2 separate regions of the Homo sapiens genome follow, and region 2 is linked to region 1. Evidence: promoter capture Hi-C in human tissues and cell types (Jung and others, 2019). All regions are on one chromosome and are shown on one strand. Each heading gives the region's core, a stretch centred on a gene start or on the middle of the fragment in contact. The rest is flanking DNA. Distances are from core to core; before and after follow the strand shown. Region 1 holds the start of C14orf180 (chromosome 14 open reading frame 180). Region 2 overlaps TDRD9 (tudor domain containing 9).

What was found. Contacts are between HindIII fragments. The study calls those that stand out against the background at their distance.
Region 2: a contact is called between a fragment that was not itself captured here and the fragment with the promoter of C14orf180 in region 1, in 1 of the 25 tissues and cell types used here (lymphoblastoid cells).

The regions. Positions count from the first base shown.
Region 1 is chr14:104,578,329-104,581,282 of GRCh38, reverse strand. C14orf180 (chromosome 14 open reading frame 180) reads right to left here and starts at 1,519. Exons shown (of 5, transcript NM_001008404.3): 1 at 1,280-1,519. The HindIII fragment of the contact is 18,385 bases long and covers 1-2,954 here.
Region 2 is chr14:104,052,055-104,055,008 of GRCh38, reverse strand. TDRD9 (tudor domain containing 9) reads right to left here. Exons shown (of 36, transcript NM_153046.3): 36 at 2,342-2,954. The coding sequence ends at 2,927. Among named protein-coding and RNA genes, the nearest start is that of ASPG, 32 kb to the left of the region's middle. The HindIII fragment of the contact is 8,720 bases long and covers 1-2,954 here.

The DNA of each region.
Region 1 (2,954 bases), core at 270-2,769:
TCTTCCGGTGGAAGAAGACTGGGACCATGGACACTGCCTCGCTGGCCTTTCCTCTGCAGGGCGGAGGCAGAACACAGCCAGGCGGGGTGGCTGGGCTCCTGGGAAAAGCCTTGGCTCCCAGCCCAACGCTCACCACTGGAACCACGCTGGCAGCTCCCCAGACAACATGCGTTCTCGACTTAAGTAAGAGGGAGAACTTGTGGGGAGGCCCCTGGCTGGGCTGACCGCCCACTGGGCTTGCTCAGGTGCCTGCAGGCCCTACCAGGTAGGAACAGGAGCAGGAGCTGCCTGGTGGCCCCCTGAGGCCCCTCTCCATGCCTAGATGGGCCCTCACATCCCGAGGTGCAGTTAGGGCTCGAGGTAGCAGCAGTACCGGGTGATGGCTGCTCATCTGCTGGGTGCAGGGGCCACCCTAGGCCTCGAGAGCTCCAGACAGACAGGGCGGGGGACCCCCCCAGGCCCTTCCTCCCATATGTGGAATGGGGGCTGTTTGCCAACTGTCCAGGGCACTGCAAAGCTCAGTAGTGCCCAAGAAATGGCGTGGCGTCCAGTGCTGGGTGGGGGTCCCATGGCCACACAGGGCAGGACAGGGATTCCTTCTGACTGACGGCTCAGAAAAGAGCCAGTTCTCAGGGATTCCCAAACACTGAGAACTAGGCTTCAGTTACTGGAGTAACGAATCCATTCCTGCTAGGCTGGGCCTGCGTAGACTTGCCCTCGGAGGATGCCCCCCACCAAGGCCCTTCAGGGAAGGCTGGCTGGGTTCATGCCTGGCACGGCTGCCTGCATTCCCCTGAGAGTGCAGCCCCTTCTCCCACTGCCCAGGCTGTTTCGCGCAACATCAGGTGCCCTTTGGAAGCTCCTGTGTGGCCAGGAGCACCCCCGCTGCTAAGTTTGAAGTGGCCGTGTTCCCTGCTTCCCCCAGAGGCGGCCTGGCCTCAGTGTGGACACAGGGCCGGCCTGGGACTGTCTCCGTTTTAGGGAAACCATCAGTCCCAGGAGAAGGGGGAAGGGTGGCCACTCTGGAGCTTGTTCAGGTCACTCAGGATCATCAGTGTGTGCTCTGCCCAGTCTCTGCCCACACCTGCTGCCCAGCTGGGGCAGGTTCCCCACCTGCACCTGCCTTTGGCAATCTCTCCGCTCTGCCCAGTCTCTGCCCACACCTGCTGCCCAGCTGGGGCAGGTTCCCCACCTGCACCTGCCTTTGGCAATCTCTCCGCTCTGGCATCTTCATACCCAAGCAGGAAGTGAGCCCCCTCTCCCTGGGGCTGGAACTCACCTGGTTCCCTCCTGGCTCCCCGAGGGACAGAAACAGGCTCTTCGGGATCTCCCTGTGGGGCACAGTCCAGTGAGGTCCTGGACCCTCTTGGCCGGCAGCACCCCTCCCAGGCCCTTGAGAGTTGAGCCTCGGGCAGAACTGCAGGGCACACAGGTGAACGGGCCAGGCCCGCCCAGGCCTCCTTCCCGAGGGCTCTGATCTGGAGGCGCCACCGCCCGCTGGCAGGGCCGGGTCTGTTGTGGCCTTCGTCCCGTCTCCAGCCCTCTCTGCTGGATCGCAAAGCTGGGCCAGCTGGCAGCGGCCAGGCTATAATTACCTCTCCCCTTTGGCAGAAATAGCAGTGAACCCGAGGACAGGCCGCTGGCCCCGGAGCAGAAGGGGGTGGCTGTTTCCCAGGCCCCCGGTGGACAACAGACCATGATTTCAGATAAGACCAGAGTTTGCTGCTGTTCCTACCCCTCCCGGCCCAAATGTGCCCCCTCCCAGGTCAATTCCAGAGCTGTGCAGCTCTTGGAAAAACCTATGGATTGGAATTCGGGGCAGAGTGGGAGAGGGAGGGCACTGTGGGGCTGCGGGAGGTGAGGTGATCACAGAGTCCAGCCTCCAATAAGACCCTGACCCAGCATGGGGCCTCCGTGGTGGCGAGAGTGCCCGCCCTGCCCCAGGCCCCTGTGCCCCTGTGAGTCCTGACCTGGGGTTGCCAGAGGGAGAGGCAAAGAATGGGTCCCAAGCTGCCGTTTTGGGGCACACTGGCCGACCCTCGATATTGCCCTGGCAGGAAGGGGCAATGTATGGGTCAGTGAGCGATGGCAGGGGTGAGGGATCAGCCTTTCTCAGGGTCTGTCCTGGGTGGGCGTCCAACTGCCCTGCCTGGCGCTGCTGAGTCTGCCCCTCATTTGTAGGTGAAAGTGCAGCTCAGAGAGTTGAGGCACCCTGTCCAGAGTCACACAGCCCGGAGGTGGTAGCCTGGCTCAGGCTTGGTGGCCCGTCCTCGCCAGCCCCCCCGTCTGCTGGTGCATGTAAAGGCAGGTCTGAAAGAGGCTGGTGAGGGCATCACTGGCGCAGGGCACCACCACATGTGGGCAGACCCCTGCCTGGTTTGTGGGGCTTTGACCTGTTTCAGGGGACTGCTGGAGGAGGTGTGGAGAGACCCGTGTTTCTCCATTAGGAATGGGGGTGCATCTCCCTTGGGTAAAGCTACAGGACCCCTGGGAGCCCAGGGTGTGCCAGGCTGGGGGACAGTGTGCACAGAGGGTGACTGCTCAGGGCCAGCCGTGGGGCTGCATGGACACAGAGTCCTGGAACCCACCGTCAGAGCATGAGCAACGCAGCCACTGGGATGGGGTTCAGCAGACCGGCCCTCCCCTCACTGCCGTCTTCAGTACAGGGCATGGGGGAGCAAACTTTTCTCTTACAGGGCCATATGGCACACAGTGCGCTCTGTGTCTACACAAACGGGGTGGGCCAGATTGGCAGGAGGGCCTTGGCTCGCTGACGCTTGTTCCAGGGAGAGCACTGAGGAAGGCTGGGTGGTCCTGCTGGCAGTCTGGCTTCCTGGGAAGAGTGAGGTCCTGTAGCCAGACAAGACCCTCTCCCGCCTGTGCCCAATCTGGGCGCTTATCCTTGGCTTCCCAGGGCTGGAGCTGCTCCTCCCAGATTTCAGAGGTCAGGCTGC
Region 2 (2,954 bases), core at 223-2,722, 530 kb after region 1:
CTGTCTCTCTGGTGCACATTCTGTCTGGCCACCCTGCCCTTCCACTGCTCCCACCCCTGCTGCACGCCAGTGTTTCTTCCTGGACTTAACTGTGCTGGTTTTGCACCCTATGCCCCATGCAGCAGCCAGAATAATCTTTCTCAAAACGTCATCAAGGCATGACACTCCCTTGTTCAAAACCCTCCAGGAGCTCCCCACCTCACTCAGAGTAAACCCCAAAACCTGCGTGTGGCCCACCTGGCCTGGCTGCTCTCCAGCCTGACCACCAGTACCCTCCACACTCTGTGCCAGCCGCACGGGCTGCCTGGTGGCTCCTCACACGCACCAGGCCTGCTGCCTCCTTGGAGCCTCACGCATCTCCTCCCAGCTATTCCAGTGCAGCCTGGGCCGGGCCTCTGCTTGAATGTCACATGGGAAAGGCTGTCCCCAGCTGCTTCTCTAAAGCAGTGTCACTCCCTGTACTTCCCCCCATCACAGGATCAGCAGCTAAGACCCAAGCTCAAGTCTGATGCCTGTTCTCATAAATCAGGTTTTGCGGGCACACAGCCCTGCTCGTTTGTTTATGGCTACTCCTGAGCTTCAACACAAAGCTGAACAGCAGCAGCAGCAACCACATGGCCCACAAAGCAAAAACAAGTGTGCACGCTCCTGTCCTGCCGCTTGACAGCTCTCACTCTGTCGCCTGACGCATTTGACCACCATCTGCCTCTACCCACTGCTCCCTGAGTGCAGTGAAACCTGGGCCACTTTGCTCGGAGTGGATCTTCAGCGTCCGTGACAGTGTGTGGAACACAGGGCGTGCTGACGGGATGCACCAGGATGAAACAACGACTGCCTCCGAGGAGCACTTGGGCTGGGCATGAAAGAGACTTCACTAGAGACCCTTTTCAAATGTCTTCATCTTATGTCATGGACATGTATTATTATACTAAGAACATTATTATGTATTTAAATATGAGGAGAATTTTGCAAACAAACAAGGCAAGTACCCTCTTAAGATAGATAAGGAAGGCAATGCAGTCGAAGTGCACCACTTGGTTTTACAGAAGATAATTTTCTTTGCTATCTACAAAATCCACGTTATAAAGCACAATGACTGACCTGGCCAGTGATATTGCTGTGACCGTGCGTAGAGATAGCAAAGGAGGTGCAGAACAGTGGGAAGGAGCCAATATTCATCTGCTGCTCAACAGCTGATGGCTAAGATGGCAACCATGAAAAAGCAGAACAAAAACATTCCTCAGCAAGATGAAAGCAATTCCAGAAAAATATAGGGAAGAGTTAGTATGGTTTCCTTTGAGAGTTGGGTGTTTTTGTTTTTAAACAAGCCTCTTGGTACTACTTAAATTTTTTTGTTTTTGTTTTTTGAGACAGAGTCTTGCCCTATTGCCCAGGATGTAGCGCAGGGGTACAATCACAGCTCACTGCAGCCTTGAACTCCTGGGCTCAGGCAATCCTCCCACCTCGGCCTCCCAAAGTGCTAGGATTACAAGTGTGAGCTACTGCACCTGGCCTAAATTTTTAGTCACTTACTAAAAGTCTGGTTAAAAAACGAACAGAATGAGTGCTTGACTGTTGTGAGTGTCCCCTACTGCTAAGGCCACACATTTGGTAACCTTGCCCACATGGACTAAGTACTCATAGGTCGGCAGAGCAAAGAGAAAAGCCAATCAAAGTGTCTGCTGCCCTCCCCGGAGGCTTTCTCAGAGGGCTTTCTGACGACGGGCAAAACCTTCACTTTAAAGCGGAACCAAGTTTTGGACGTGCTCAAAACCTTCCAAGAGCCCTCCATGTGTGCCAACTTGGTATGACCACTTACTCCCTAAGGCTGGGAAGCACATTCCCCAGAAGGCCAGGACAGTGGCCCAGTGACAGGGGTGCAGTGCTGCCCAGCCACCACAGCTGCTTGGTGGTCTTCCCGCTTGGCATCTGCCAGCTTCCCGCTGCTGGCCAGCGAACCCACAGAGGCCCAGCACAGCGCCAATGCTCCCCAAGATGTGACGGCTTCCAAGACCCCACACAAGCTCCCGTTTATGATCCCAAGTTGATGCCCATGCACACGCTTCTCCTGTTTCCTCACCATCTTCAAATTGTCCATCTGGGACAAGTCAGTTTAAGCAGAGCATTTCTCTGATCCTACAACTTCCCTCTCACGTGCGAGCTCACTGGCGTCTTTCACTGCTGTATTTACAACAGCTCTGTTCTTCTGACCAAACCCTGACTGATGTGAGTTGAGCTTTTAAAAGAGGTCTGTATCCCTGTATCAGTTGTACAATTTCAGATTTTTTGGAACTAAATACATCTTAATCTCCTCTGACTAAAAACTGTCAGAAACAGAAACTTCATTTAATGCTTTTATTGTTTTAACACAGATAAGCTATGGCCATGTAATCTGTAATCTCTGATTTCCAAAATGTGAACCAAGAAGTATAACTCAACTTAGTCTTATAAAAATTAGATATTTTCCCTCATGGAAAAAAAAATCAGAAAATACTACATGGTTTTTTTGTTTTTTTAAGTTTTTTCCTATACTACTGGTTTAAATCACTGTAACAGAACAGAATATGTAAGCACATTCTGGAACCTTACATCTAAGATTAACTACTTATATTTACCTTAATAAATTTAAAGCAAAATACAGCTCTTTATCCAAACAGACTTCTTTCAGAACAATCTTTCCAAAATATTTAATACAGTGATTTTCTGTTTCTAGAAAAGACTAGAGTTTCCAATCCTTCCCACCTGAACAAAAACACCACTCTCTGACTATCACCCAAAGAGAAAAGAAGAAAGAAAAGGCCTTTAGGATGCAGTGGGCACAGACTGTAACACCCAGACACAGAGGAAAGTCAGTCTGCGGAGGGAGCCTGGAATCCAGCCTCCACAGCTTCCTGAGGGGTGTGCTGGAGGCCACCTGTGGACATGCTCAGGTGCCGAGCACAACCAGTTTGTGG